Regions from separate parts of the Homo sapiens genome. Here region 2 is linked to region 1. Evidence: promoter capture Hi-C in human tissues and cell types (Jung and others, 2019). All regions are on one chromosome and are shown on one strand. Each heading gives the region's core, a stretch centred on a gene start or on the middle of the fragment in contact. The rest is flanking DNA. Distances are from core to core; before and after follow the strand shown. Region 1 holds the start of IFIT1B (interferon induced protein with tetratricopeptide repeats 1B). Region 2 overlaps SLC16A12 (solute carrier family 16 member 12).

The links. The method cuts DNA at HindIII sites, captures the fragments that hold promoters and counts their contacts. A contact is called where the count stands out against the background at its distance.
Region 2: a contact is called between a fragment that was not itself captured here and the fragment with the promoter of IFIT1B in region 1, in 1 of the 25 tissues and cell types used here (aorta).

What each region holds. Positions count from the first base shown.
Region 1 is chr10:89,373,923-89,381,807 of GRCh38, forward strand. IFIT1B (interferon induced protein with tetratricopeptide repeats 1B) reads left to right here and starts at 4,134. Exons shown (of 2, transcript NM_001010987.2): 1 at 4,134-4,218. The coding sequence starts at 4,214. It also overlaps a transcript of LIPA not described here. The HindIII fragment of the contact is 9,233 bases long and covers 1-7,885 here.
Region 2 is chr10:89,525,871-89,533,755 of GRCh38, forward strand. The region is part of intron 2 of SLC16A12 (solute carrier family 16 member 12); the gene reads right to left. Among named protein-coding and RNA genes, the nearest start is that of SLC16A12, 5.8 kb to the right of the region's middle. The HindIII fragment of the contact is 4,199 bases long and covers 3,583-7,781 here.

The DNA of each region.
Region 1 (7,885 bases), core at 2,884-5,383:
AAACCATGCACAAAAAAATCACTTTGGGATTACTTTTTTCAGAAAACTTACTGATAATACTCATGCCTGGGCTTCACTTCCAGAGATTCTGATTGATTGGGCTGGAGATTGGCTCAGGCATCTGCATTTTTAAAAGACTTCCAAGGAATTTTACAACCTTGCAGCCCAAGGTTGTAAACCACTGTTCAAGGCCAACCTTTTTCTATACCTGATGAGGAAACTCAGTGTTTAAGTGAAATCAAGTTCACTCTGCTAGTTCGTCGAACACAGAGCTGGTTCTGGAATGTTGATAGTGGTTAAGTTTTATTTCTCCAATGCTTAAGTTTCATTTCTACAAGTAGGCATCCTGCCCATTAGAAATGAGTTTCCCTCTCTAGTTTCCATTGTTTTTTTCCTATTTGTAGACACAGACACACACACACTCTCTCTCTCTCTCTCTTACACAATGTGTTGGCTGTTTCCTTATTGTTGCTCTGTCCTGTGTGGTTCATGGCTGTATTTATCCAAGGACACACTGGGCCAGATCCTGAATACCTAATCAGTTGAGCCAGAGCCTCACAGAACCAGGACTGCTGCCAAATTCAGTGACCACATGACAAACACTCACTCTGTTTCTCTGACACGCTGTTACTAGCAATAATTTTATGCATGAAAATTCCAAAGTCATACTACTCTCAGTGTAAGCAGCTCTCCTAATGTTCATTTCAGTATTTGCTTATGTTTCTATCCCTTTTAGAGTTGATTCAGGGCTAGTGCCTTACAGAAGATATTTGTATCTGAAAACACAATTGGCCTCCTAGAAGCTTCCCATCTGATACAGAACTGGAGAGAGAGAGCTGAGAGGAAATGAGTCCCATTCCAAAATCTCTTCTCCCCCTACACAGGTCCATCCTCACTAGGGAGAGGTTGAATGCCTGCTGCCCAAGAGGTACTGCTGGGCTCTATGTGTAGATATGGCCAGGGCTCCCTGACCTGAGCCTGAGATGGGAATATGTAGATTGCCCTGGCCTGAAGCTCAGAACAGGACACCCCTATCTCAGCAGCTGCACAGTCAGATATGACATGAAACACCTCTCTCTCAGTGCCCACTGGGAAAAATTGTAGTCTGGAAGGGCTCCAGCTAATGGTCAGCACAGACTGCACAGATAAGGGGACTTGTCCCACACTGTGAAAGCAACACTCACAATTACTGAATGCTGTTAAATGAGACATGCTTTCCATGCAATATCCCACTTCATCTCAACATAACCCCATGACGAAAGTCCTAGTGCTATTCCGATTCCATGGGTAAGTAAATGTGGCTTAGAAATGTGAACCAACTATCCCAAGATCACATGTCCAGTAAGCAGCAAAGTCCATTAATGACCCCAGGTAGTCTGATTCCAGGTGGCCTTCACTACTGAGCAACATCATCTTGTGCGCACAAAGACAAGTAAAGGTAAAGGGTTTTAATAGTTCTCATTATGCCCAAGCTGCAGAGCAAGAAAGGAAACCTCAGAAGAAAACATCCCATTGGCCCCAAATATAGAATAATGGTTGTTCTATGATGGGGTGCTATTGTCTTATACTCAGAGTACACAACCCCAAAATAAACAAGATGGCAAATATCTGTGCAGAACCCCCTCCATCAGGTGATTCTGTCACCTGACAGGTGTAGAAGGTTTTTTCTAATGGCCTTGGTTTGCTCAACCCCAGATGGAACAATGTTTGACTAACAATCATTCTTCCCTTTCAGCAAACTTGGTCTTCCACAGCAGGGCTACGTGGGCCTAGTTTCCTTTCCCTCATTCCCCTGAATGGTTCTAACCTCCATTTCTGTGCTGTCATTATGCTTAGAGAATTTTTCTGCCTACTTTTATTATTAGAGTATACTCAAGGAATAAAATGGGGATTCTCATTACTTAAGTAATGTTGAGATTTGGTGGGTTTATGGAAGAATACATGGATCTAAATGATATCCTGTGCTTGTAAGATGTCAAGACGGGCCAGGTGCAGTGGCTCACACCTGTAATCCCACACTTTAGGAGGCCAACACAGGTGCATCACCTGAGGTCAGGAGTTCGAAACCAGGATGGCCAACATGGTGAAACCCCATCTCTACTAAAAATACAAAAAAATAGCTGGGTATGGTGGTGCACACCTGTAGTGCCAGCTACTCTGGAGGCTGAGGCATGAGAATCACTTGAACCTGGGAGGCAGAGGTTGCAGTGAGCAGAGATAGTGCCACTGTACTCCAGCCTAGGTGATACAGCGAGACTCTATCTTAAAAAAAAAAAAAAAAAAAAAAGAAGAAGAAGTCAAGAGGTCCAGCACATTCTTCTAGGAACTTGTCTCATGCGAATGGGGAGATGTGGTCTATCTCAAGTTGCCTAAATCCTTCCTTGAATAGACGTGGAGATGGGTTTTTAATTCACATAGAGAGAGAGATTATATACTATACTCTTTCTTAAGCATATTCTTTTCCTAAGATGTCTGCTCTCATTTCAACTGTGAATGCATAAGATCTTATGTGACGTTCCTTTTCTGGGTAGTCCTTCTTGTCTATATAATTTTTGGCTTTAGAAAGGTCAGGAGCAGTAACTGGAGCAGTAACTCAGAAGTTCCCTGAAAAGAAAGAGAAGAGCTGCCCCAGACATCTGAGAGCATCATTAACACCTGTGACCATGATGGGTCAAGACAAAATACAAGGCCACTCTGTAATCAGGTCTGAGTGCAGACAAAAATACGAATATTTTCCAACTGGATTCGAAAATAATCAAGCAGCCCCTTAAACTGGCCAATATGAATGACTGCTGCTTCCTTTCAAATTACACCTGTCACCTTGGTCTAGTCTTCTCTTTTTCCAGACACAATTTAAGATACCCAATTATAGAATCATTTCTGCTTCCTGACAGCCTCCCATCCCATGCCCATGACCACACCTTACCACATGGGAGCCTGGGAAATATAGTCTAGTTACAGGCCCAGGACAAAGAAGAAATAGCACAGCGAGGCTACAGTTTCATTTGGTAATTATGAGAAGACTGTAATGAAGTTAATAACCCTACCTTGAAATGCTCACTCAGAGGGAAATCGCTCTCAGTCTTTGCCCTTTTGCTTATCTTGGTGCACTACCCCTACAAAACCAAGATCCAGAAACGTACAGGATGACATTGTAACAATTCACAAGAGGAATTCAGAATAGCAGCTTTCCAAATTTTCCTTTTTCTCTGCTAATTGTGTGGGCAATTACATCAGCCTTGGGATCATATAAATTTTTCATTAAACATGTGAACATTGTTTGATTGACTCTCTGATGGTTGTTGCTTTGTAACAGATAATCTTCAAAATAGTAGAAACAGAAGAAACATAAGGACAACTCAGAAGAACTATGTGAATTTGGATTTAGATTTTTAACCCCCATGACCCCATCACATTCTCTGACTACATTGCATATGTTTCTCTACTGACCAGCTCAAACATTGTTGTTTGAACCACTAATGGTGAACAGTAAAGATCATCAAAACAGTCAATATGCTTGAATAGGCTCCACTATAGCCAGGGTTGGCAGTAATGCAAATGCTGCTGGAGGATGTAACCAGTATGGGACCCTTCTTATAGACCAATATCTCAAAATTGAGGAGTTGTTTTGCCTAACACAGCCCCACAGAAGAAGACCTAACCATCTGCAACCTCATTCTTCCACAAATTGACAATGACTTTCTACAGTATTCTTTTAGGCACAAACCACTGACCCTGGTCTAAGGAGCTTCCATTGTAGACGTCCCTGGAACCACCTGGCGGGATACATGTGATAGTAACAAGTTTGACAACAGAGTCTGACATGATTCACAAAAATATACGTTCCTGTCTGCCACTGGTTTTTCCACAACACTGAATGTCATCATAAAGTCCAGTTACCCTCTATCTCCTACACCACATTGACTCCAGCAAGGGAATTTGCGTATCAAAACTGCTTCTCACACACCCATCCTCTTAGCTGCCAAAACTCAGCATGTATTTGTAATCAAAGCAGAGACAGCCCTATTCCTCTGTATCATTTTCACCCTGCCAATTCACTAGGCATCAAGGGTGTAAAAAACTGCCTGGATATACCTCCCATATATAAGCACCATGCTTATCTGAGAAGCCCTAGAACTCTGTGGATGAACCTTGAAGGAGCCTCCAAGCCTGAACCAAAGCACTACAGATCACCTGCTATCTTCATAGCACCATGAGGTAAAGTCTTTCTCTGCTTCACTGACCTTATTTCTGCACACTTTGAAATTCTAAAACTTTCCTTAAGGGCCAATTTTTTGACAGGCCTTCTCCTAAGGGAGCTGTCCCACTGGTGGTTCTGACCCTGATAGGCACCCTCAACATGATAACCAAGAAGAGTTTAATAAGGGGGCTATTTAAGACGATATGGGCAAAGTTTAGGGAAATCAACAGGAAATGGTGCTTGTTGGTTGCAGGGCAGCGGGAAGAGGCGTGTTGGTTTACAACAGTGGTAACATGATAACCCTGGGCCTACAGGAGCAAGAGGAGAGAACCAGACCCAAGGAGACTCTAAGCTATAGCTGTAGGGGAGGGGCTTCTCAAGAGGCCTTTGGTGAAAAAATCACTGACAACCTCAAGCAGAGCACAGTGGGAGCTTAGGAATTAATTCCATGACCTTCACCTCCTCCTGCAATTTAATATCTGGCTGGTGCTCCCCAGTGGGCCAACCCCAGTAGAAAGTAAAAAATAAAAGAGTTTTGGAGTTAATAAAGTCCATAGAGTCAGCTTCCAAGCACAGAGCATGGTGAAGAATGTAGGAAAGTAGATTCAGAGGGGCAAGATGAGAATATATGTAGAGGCAAGTTTCCTAACTCCTGTTACAGAGCTCGCTTAGTAAGGGTAGCTGGCTTAATAAAAGCAGCAATGCTCTTAAGGAAATAAACGAGAAAGCAATCTTATTTCCAAAGATGTCATTTCTGTAGCACTTTCTAATAGAGGGACAATTACCCAGGCAACACTTAAAGACTGTTCACCAGGGAACAGAGGCCTGAGCCTAGAGAGGAGACTGGCCCGGGGACCAGTCAGGGCAAGAGCATTGAGATCCTTTTAATATACAAAATACTCTTTTAGGCATCCAGGTGAGAAGAAGCAGCTATTTTTATTTGATAAATTGGTTAAATTCACGTGGGAAAAAGAAGCTACTTTCAGAGATGGCTGTTTTTCTGTTGTTTGTTTGTTTTTGATACCAAGTCAAATTTTGTGATTACTGTGAAACTATGAAATTGTGATTACTATGAAATTTGCTTTTCACTGAATTAACTGTTCTCAAAGTGTGGTCCCCTGACTAGCAACATCAGCATCACTTGGGAAGGTAGCAGAAATGCAAATTCTCAGGCCCTACCCTAAACCTGCTGACTCAGAAACTCTAGGGTGGGGCCCATCAATCTGTGTGTTATAAGTTTTCCAGGTGATCATGTTGCCTGCTAAAATTTGAAAAACCATTATACTAGATGTTAGAAAATAAGAAATTTTGTAGGCATTGTGATATGTTTGTTCCACAAAATATATATTTCTTTTTTTCCTGGTGTAGTTAGAACTGGTGACCTGCAGAAAATGCTTTCACTCAAAAGTATTCTGACCTGCTAGAGTTCTCCCATCTGATGTTGCAGTCAGTGGGAGAGGAAGAACTTTACAGAAAAAGGGGCTGCTCTTTTGAGATCCCTTTCTAGCAAACATGTAGACCTGTCTTGAGAAGAAATTATAAATGAAGGATTGCAAAAAAATTCACCACAAGAGTACCCAAGTCTCTCTTTTTAATATAACGGGCTCCTGGTCATAAGATGTTAGTTGTGGCTGGGCATGGTGGCTCACACCTGTAATCCCAGCACTTTGGGAGGCCGAGATGGGCAGATCACGAGGTCAGGAGATCAAGACCATCCTGACTAACAAGGTGAAACCCCGCCTCTTCTAAAAAATACAAAAAATTAGCCGGGAGTGGTGGCGGGCGCCTGTAGTCCCAGCTACTCAGGAGGCTGAGGCAGGAGAATGGCGTGAACCTGGGAGGCGGAGCTTGAAGTGAGCCGAGATTGCACCACTGCACTCCAGCCTGGGCAACAGAGTGAGACTCCGTCTCAAAAAAAAAAAAAAACAAAAGGTATTAGTTGTGTCTGCATCTGTGGAGTTGACAGAAAGCAAGCCTTTCATTCCCTGCTGCCTTGGTAGCTAGTCTATGTGAGAGGTTTTGCAATGGCCTGGGCGTATGTTTCTAGAAGCCACTGACCTGAGGTGGCCTAAGGGGAATCTGGACTATCCCAGACTGAATAATGCCCACATCAAAATCCTCCTGATCCCACTGGTTCAGGGACAGAGGAGCAGATTGAGCTCCTCCTTCCATTCATGCTTATTGATCAAGACAGCTTAAGTGGAGCTTAAGTGGACAAGATCCAGGGAAATGCCTCACAAAACATGGTGACGAGTCCCTGTCTGCCACAGGCATACAGGGATTAGGTCACTACATACATGCACAAACTCATCTTTTTTTTTTTTTTTTTCCAGACAGGGCCTCCCTCTGTCACCCAGTCTGGAGTGCAGTGGCATGATCACAGCTCACTGCAGCCTCCACCTGCCCGGGCTCAGGTGATCCTCCCACGTCAGCCCAAGTCGCTGGGACTACTGGTGTGCATCGCCAGGCCCGGCTAATTTTTGTATTTTTTGAGAGACATGGTTTCGCTATGTTGCCCATGCTGGTCGTGAACTCCTGGGCTCAAGCAATTCACCTGCCTTGGACTCTCAAAGTGTTGGGATTACAGGCATTAGCCACCACGCTGGGGCCTAATTTGATGATAATATGTATACTACTAATAACAGCACTTTCTGTATGCTCACCAGATAAAAGGAGGACTTTAGGCTCTCAGCATTTCCATTTTAGAGAGTGAGGACACCTCTAGGGTGATATTCTACTCCTTAGTCTTCCCAGGGCCCAAGTCAAGAAGATACATGTTGATGAACAACCACCTATAAGAAAGAGCAATAATTCTCTTCTGGAACTTGGCAGGGCAGCCTTGTAAGATTGTGTAAATTGTGCACTTGAAATTCTACAATCTCAGTGAAAGCCAAAATCTAGTATACTTTTTTCCACCTATCAATGCATGGCCATGATTAGATCACTCAGAGGAAGACTGATCTCTTTCTACTGCTCACAAATGTGCTGGGTGGGCTAGCAGCTGAGATGCTGAGATTGGGTACATATTTAGAAAGCTTGGAATGGCTTATCTTCAAATATTCCAGCAGCTCTAGAGTAATGGAAGTCTGTGTGGATTATTTTCCCTGGGTAGTGTCTGTTCTCATCATAGCACAAGCTCCACGGGGCATGAGTGGACGATTTGGGTCAAAAACTCTTCCCGATTCCATCTTCTGTAGGGGTGGTGACTATTTTCAGTGAGCATTCTTCAGCACAATATTAATTTTACTTACTCCTGACCCCACCTCACCCAGCATATGTCCCACACACACCCCCACACACAGGTTTCATTGGGTAATCTTCCTGGGCCACAGCTGGAAGGAAGATTTCTGGGACTCCTCATCTCAGCAGTCAACTATACAGTCCTATCCTAAAGCAATATGCCAGGACTCTCATATTCCACAGACTCAAGGATGGAGAAGATGGCTTGGGATTGTGGGCAGGAATGCACTCAAGGAGGGTCTAAGCATAGTAGGGAGTTTTTTAGATGGAGACTCTGAGGGAAAAGTGAGGGCTGTGTTGAGCTGCCAGCTGTGCTCAAAGCAGCAGTCATAAGCCTGAGTATCCTCTGCCCAACTTTGTGGTGCTATTCATTATCTTGTGAATCCTTTCCTTTCTTCCTTTCTTTCCTTTCCTTTATTTTCTTTATTATTAATTTTTTTGAGA
Region 2 (7,885 bases), core at 4,432-6,931, 150 kb after region 1:
ATACGGGGGAAATGTCTGGATTTTTTAAGGTAAGAAACCGTGATATTTCTTAACAAATAATTTTATGTCAAAAAATGCCACAACAGCTGTCTGAATTGCCAAATTCACTAGGTAACCACCCAAGTTTATCCTCTCATTGTGCACTTCAACCTGCATGTAGAAGGGGCCCCAGTGATTTGTGCATGATGCAGGGTTTTCAAAGAAAGGATAAGCATCCTTGGCTGGTTTCCAAGCCCTGTCCTCTGACCCCATCATGCTACCCCCCGCCCCCACACACATATATACCCATGCATCAACTCTTTTGGCAGTTATGTACAACTGTACATGGGGGAATTATAAAATTAAAATATGAAATGCAAACTTCATTAACCAAAATGCACATTTGGTTAACGTGAATACAGAGAACGGCACTTAGCCCAGCATAGCTATTCCCCAGAATTTGATCTTTGACCCATCTCACCCCTCTCTAGAAACACTCTCCTGGGGAGACATATAACTTGAACTGAGTCCCTATACTGATAACTCCCAAGCTATAGTTCTTGCTGTAAATATCTAACTGCTTACTTGGTTATCTCTCCCCACAGGCATCAAAGTTATAAAGTTATTAAGACCGAAGATTTCCCAGGCTTTTCAACACAGATCCGCAGTCGTAGCTTGAAACAATTAGGAGCTGCCAGAATATAAAACAAATTTGGCAAGGAACAGGAAGCAGAAACTTAGAAACATGTGGCCCAATCACTTACAAACTTGTTTTGGCCAAGAAATCCTTTGTTCAAATAAAATCTTACTTGGAAACCAAATATGTGAAATCAAGCACAGGACACCTGCTCAGATAGCAGAAGGGGCCACCAGAAAGGAGCCCAAAGGTGGAAGCTGGACATCGGTCCGCCACCCATTGCCCTCATGCCCTGTAACACAGCTCCAGAGGTGCTCCCTGATACTCCCAGGAATGTGCAAAATACAGTTTAAAATCTACTGGCCAAAATCCATTAAGAAATCAAGAACAGAACACCTACTCAGATAGCAGAAGGGGCCACCAGAAAGGAGCCCAAAGCTGGAAGCTGGACATCGGTCTGCCACCCATTGCCCTCATGCCCTGTAACACAGCTCCAGAGGTGCTCCCTGATACTCCCAGGAATTTGCAAAATACAGTTTAAAATCTACTGGCCAAAATCCATTAAGATTTTTATTCGTGGATAAAAATTTATTTATTTTTATTACAAAATCAACAGTTAAAGTGTAATTTGGGGAAGCTAACTGGTAACAGTGGGTGAGAATCTCCATGAGCATTAAAACCAAATAAGAACAAATTAAAAAAAATAAGGGGCTGAGTAGGGCGTGGTGGCTCATGCCTGTAATCCCAGCACTTTGGGAGGCCGAGGTGGGCAGATCACTTGAGGTCAGAAGTTTGAGACCAGCCTGACCAACGTGGTGAAACCCCGTCTCTACTAAAAATACAAAAATTAGCCGGGTGTGGTGGCAGGTGCCTGTAATCCCAGCTACTCAGGAGGCTGAGGCAGGAGAATCGCTTGAACCCAGGAGGCAGAGGTTGCAGCAAGCCGAGATCATGCCATTGCACTCCAGTCTGGGTGAAAGAGTGAGACTCCACCTCAAAAAAAAAATAATAAAACTAAAAAAATAAGGGGCTGGCATGGTAGCTTACATCTATAATCTCAGCACTTTGGGAGGCTGAGGAGAGAGGATTGCTTGAGCTCAGGAGTTTAAGTCCAGCCTGGAAAAACATAGTAAGACTCCATTTCCATTTCTACAAAAAAAAAAAAAATTATTTATCTGGGCATGGTGGTGCCCACCTGTAGTTCCAGCTACTTTGGAGGCTGAAGCAGGACTGCCTGAGCCTAGTAGTTCAAGGCTGCAATGAACCATCATTGCACCACTGCACTCCAGCCTGGGTGACAGTGAGACCCCATCTCTTAAAAAAAAAAAGAGAGAGAGAGAGAGAGAAAAGAAAAAAAGAGGTGAATTCTAAGTAGGAGTAGTCTACTAGATAAATCTTCAGAATCTGTATCAGTCACCTCACCACATTTTCTCAAAAACAATAAATCCTAATGACAAGGAAAGCTCTAAAATTAATCATACTTTGTTGAAGTCACATAGGGCAAGGTTTAAACTCCTATCTTTCTTACGTAAGAGTCCTATATAATATCTTTCTTATATAAAAGTCTGGCCAGGCATGGTGGCTCATGCCTGTAGTCCTAGCAACTTGGGAGGTTGAGATGGGAGGATTGCTTGAGCCTGGGAGGTCGAGGCTGCAGTGGGCCCTGATAAGGCCACTGCACTCCAGCCTGGGTGACAAAGAGAGACCCTGTCCCAAGATAACCCTTTTTATTTAATTTGATGCAATTGAATAAAAACAGAAAGTTTTCAGAGAAAGTTTGAGTATTAAGGTTGACAACTCAATCAATTTAAAGAAACACATAATAAAGGACACATCTGTAAGTATTTTAGAGGAAACACATTATTGTTGTAGAGTAAAAGGCCAAATTATTGTCCTAAACAAAAATACCCATATGGTACCACAATCATCAAAAACTTGAAAATAGTTGGTTAATTAATTCATTGGTTGACAGTAATTATATCAATTGTGTTGATTTGGTTGTTTTGACATCTTATACACATAAGCCTAGTGAATTCCACAGAGAAGAAAAAAAATCACTGAACATTCATTCAACCATTGGGAAAAGCTTTCCATATAATGAATGGGCCCTCTATAGAGAAAATGCACACACAAAAAATTTCCATTATATGTTAAGAATATACCACACATGAAATTTTATGTTTCAATAAAATTTTTTTCTAAAGAGGCACAAAATTATTATTACATATGTCCATAGTTTCTCAACCCTGGCTGTACATGAGATTCACCAGAGAGATTTAAAAACTATCAATACCCTAGCCCTGTATCTCAGACCTACGGAATCAGAATTTTTCAGAGTAGGACATTGGTACCAGTTTTTTTCCTTCCTCAGGTGATTCTAATGTGTAGGTGGGGTTGAGAACCATTGATACAGAGTCTTCAATCAACTGATTTATGGATACTAGGTTGTCAGGTGTCAACCTGAACAGACCATTTATTTTTTATATCATTTATGCCTGTGAGTTTGGGCTACCCCTATTCATAACTATTTAATAATGATGATTAAGGCTGGTTTTTGATAGTTGTCTGGTTGAACTATCACTGCCTGAAGAAGCAGCATTCTGTTCTCCCTTATGAGATTTAACTTTGTCGTGAGTTTTTATTTTTTTGGTGGTTCCTTCGGGGGCTATGAATGTGGTTGCTTTGAAGTTACAGGTTCAGAGAGCTGAAATTTCTGTTTCAAGAAATACATCTGGTTTCAGTAGATAAATATGAACTCACTCCCATGGAAAGTATTCCATCAAGCAAAGTGGAATCCCAAAATAAGTAATTATGGCCCTAATTTATAATATGTCAAATAAACCACAAAATGATTAATTGTGCTCAGGAATATTTTGAAAAAAACATAGTCTACAAATGATTTGGGTGATAATTTTTAAGTATTGGTATAGTTAACACTTTATGTAGCTACTTTGTTTACATATATGAACCACCGAGCCAGAAGACGGTGTTAGGGGGAAACAGTTGCTGATTTTTATGGTGATTCAGAAGTTGGGAAACTGAGTCCCAATTTCCTTTACAGTCTTTTTTTTTTTTTTTTTTGAGACAGTCTCTCTCTGTTGCCCAGGCTGGAGTGCAGTGGCACAATCTCGGCTCACTGCAACCTACACCTCCCAGGTTCAAGCCATCCTCCTGCCTCAGCCCCCCTAGTAGCTGGGATTACAGGCACGTGCCACCACGCCCAGCTAATTTTTGTATTTTTAGTAGAGACGGGGTTTCGCCATGTTGGCCACGCTAGTCTCGAACTCCTGACCTCAGGTGATCCACCCGCCTCAACCTCCCAAAGTGCTGGAATTACAGGCATGAGCCACTGCACCCGGCCTCCTTTACAGTCTTAAGTGACTAATGCTATATCTATAAGAGGCTCATAGACATGGAATTTCTCTCTAGATACAGAAATGAGTTATTTTCAAAATATACAGGGTACCCTCAGAAATGGAAACATTAGAAGCTCTCAGCAGTAAAGTAATCAGAAGTCAGGAAAAGCAGAGTCAAAAAGTTGATACAACATATTTTGAACATTTTGTTTCAATTCCTTTCATAAACAAAAAATTCATTCACTAATCTTTGGATATTGGGTCATGATTGGAGTTCTATGTTATTTTTCTTGGTTAATCCACATCCAGATTTCCTGCTTCCATTTCTTAAAGAGGATCAGGACCTTATTGGAGCTTGTGAAAAAACCTGAATGCAAAATCATTCTAGAAATTTTTACTGTACTCTTCAAATCTCTTATCACTATGCCACACCTAAGTACTCATCCCTCTTCCTTTTGTAATTTGCTTGTTCATGTTGCTTTTTAAAAAGCTTTATAGTCCTTTTATAAATTGAGATAAAATTCACATAAACTTCACTATTTTAATACTTTTAAAATGTAAAATTTGGTGGTTTTTTTTTTTCTTTTTTTTCTGAGACGGAGTCTCGCTCTGTTGCCCAGGCTGGAGTGCAGTGGCGGGATCTTGGCTCACTGCAAGCTCCGCCTCCTGGGTTCATGCCATTCTCCTGCCTCAGCCTCCCGAGTAGCTGGGACTACAGGCGCCTACCACCACGCCCGGCTAATTTTTTGTACTTTAGTACTAGAGACGGGGTTTCACCGTGTTAGCCAGGATGCTCTCGATCTCCCGACCTTGTGATTTGCCCGCCCCGGCCTCCCAAAGTGCTGGGATTACAGGTGTGAGCCACGGCGCCCGGCTGGTGGTTTTCATATATTTACAATGTTGTGCAACCACCACCCCATTATCTAATTCCAGAACATAGCCGTCACCCCAAAAAGGAACCTTGCATCCATCATCAGTCACTCTCTATTTCCCCTACCCCACTTCCCTGGCAATCACTAATCCACTTTTTGTTCATATGCATTTGCTTATTATGGACATTTCATATAAATCATACAACATGTGGTCTTTGTATCTGGCTTCTTTCACTTAGCATAATGTTTTCAAGGTTCATCCATGTCGCAGCATGTGTTGATATATTTTTTTTAACATTACTTACTTTTATGGGTCCATATAGCGATCAACTTAGTTTTCACAGAAATACCATTCTTTGTTTAGCATTCATATTACATCGGTTTAGGCAATATTTCATTAAATCACAAAATTACAATAGCATCCTGGCACTTTGGGAGGCCAAGGCAGGCAGATCACCTGAGGTCAGGAGTTCGAGACCAGCCTTGCCAACATGGTGATATCCTGTCTCTACTAAAAAAAAAAAAAGTACAAAAATTAGCCAGGCATGGTGGTGGATGCCTGTAATCCCAGCTACTCAGGAGGCTGAGGTGGGAAAATTACTTGAACCAGGGAGGCGGATGTTGCAGTGAGTCGAAATACACCACTGCACTCCAGCCTGGGTGACAGAGCAAGGCTCTGTCTCAAAGAAAAAAACAAAAATACAATAGCAAAGTACAACTGGCATAAACTGGACTGTAACCAAACACCGCTGTAAGCATGCACCTGACCTAGTAACAGCCAAGTATACAAATTTATTAAGATGATAGCTATTTCCCACAGCGGTCTCTGTGTCTGAGCAACCACCAGGATGTGGTTCAGAGGAGGAGAGCATTGGTTAATCCAATGAGTTGTTTCAGTGTTGGGCAGTATTTCATTAAGCAGAACAGAGTCACATGCATGTAGAGGGGCAGAGAGGTGATAAGTGTCTATTATATGACCCAACACAGCCTCAACTGGTTCCCAAGAGGAAGTTCTCTACGTGTCTTCAAAAAGAGGCAAGGATGTGCTGCCATAAAGATAGGTATATCCTCTGCCTCTATAAAAGCTTTACCGTGCTTTACCATCTTTCAAGAAGCAACTCCAATGGGCCCTCCTCTACAAAGTCTTCCCTAACCCTCAAATCTTCACAGTGCCTGCCTGCTCTCTCTTCTTCCTTTTAATTCCCAAAGTACTTATGCATCTCTTATGGTAGTTTGAATCGGTATGATAGCTAGCCATACAATGTCCTCTCTTCCATACCAGGATGTAAGCTGCATCAGAGGCATGTTCTGTGTCTTTACACGTCCTGCTGTCACCAGCACCAGAAAAGAGATGCTCAAAACACAGTCTTCACACAAATCCTTATACAAATCTTTTAATAAGAAGTAGAAGTTCAATAAATATTCATTAAATTAATAAATGAATGAGCACACTAATTAAATAATTAATTAATTTCATGCAACATCTTACCTGGCTACAGCAATTAACCCTACTCGTCAATGCGCGGTAAATGAAGGAAGGATATGTATCTGATGGGGCACAGTGGTGGGTGAATGAAGAAAAAAAAATCAGCTACTCCAGGTGCCTAGCATGCATCAGAAATTGTGACTGTTCCCCAAATGTTCAACAGACACCACCTTCAAACAGGACATTGTTAGATAATGACACTTTCTGATGTCCTTTGATGTAGAGCACATTAAAAATATTATCAGAGGGAAAATCTTTCTGTTCAAAATCCCCCAACCTCTTCAACTGTGTATTTAGTTTTCATCAATTAAATTATTATATCATTTCAATGGGTGACTTTTTATATACACTGGAAAGGTACTCATAAGAAAATAGCTTCCAAATTGGCAATTTTTAAAAGCAAAGCAACTGGTTAGGTGAGGAATGCATAAACAACCCCAAAAGCGGCACTGAATACTTTTCTTTGGCTGTATACGACTGAAAAACTGCCAAGTTCATTTCGATAAGCCTTTGTTAAAAACAATAAACATGCCTGAGCTTGCAAACTATGCTGTTTTGAAGAAAAAGCAATTGAGAGAATTAGAAAATGCTTAAAACTGGAATGTCTAATAGTCTATGAATATGGAGGAAAGTGGGGGACAAAATGTAAAGTGAGACAAAATAACAACAGAACACCATCTTCATAAATAAATAAAAAGCAACATCTTATAAACTAATTTAATTAGTCTCCAATACTAACATGGTACCACTAACACTCTTAAGAAAACAAATCATCCCGTGCTTCAAGTTTAGTCACCAAGGTGATCTCCCTGCAATAAAGGAAATGTAATTTCATTGACTCCAAATGAACATATATTAAATAACCAAATGTGGGAACTGCAATTCACTTACAGTAAAATGTCAGCTCATAAAAGTCAAAGTAACTTCACCTGAATTTGTTTTTTTGTTGTTGTTGTTGTCGTTTTTAGTTTTTTTTTTTTCCATGATTATAAGATTCTCAGAATTGCAGGATTGGAAGGAAGATAGTTTGGATCACTTATGTTTATTTTCCTGCTTAGGTAAAACTGAAATTCTCTTGTACCTGCCTAAGAAATCCTGGAAAAATTCTAGTGAATAAATTGCAACTTGAGCTCTATAGGATCAAAGTTCTTTGTTTTGTTCATTGACATATCCCAAATGCCCAGAACAGCACTAGGCATACAGTAGGCACTCAATAAATATCTGCTCAATTGAACTAAATTGAAAAATATGCAGTGCAATGCAATGTTAAATAAGTCACTTTGAAACTCCTTTCTTAGCTTTGTTTTGGTCATAGTATTAATCACAATAAACAAACAGTCCTCATATAAAACACTTCAACACTATAATTCATGTTTTTACTTCTGATCGATCATTACCATAGAGGGTGCTGAGAATCAGAAAAGACTCCAAGGAAAGATGGGGGTAGAGTTACTCCCATCTATTTGGACTAATTTTCTTCTTCTGGGCATTCACCTGAGAAGTATCTGTATATCCATAATATAAAAATAATTTAAAATATTACTTAAAATTAAAG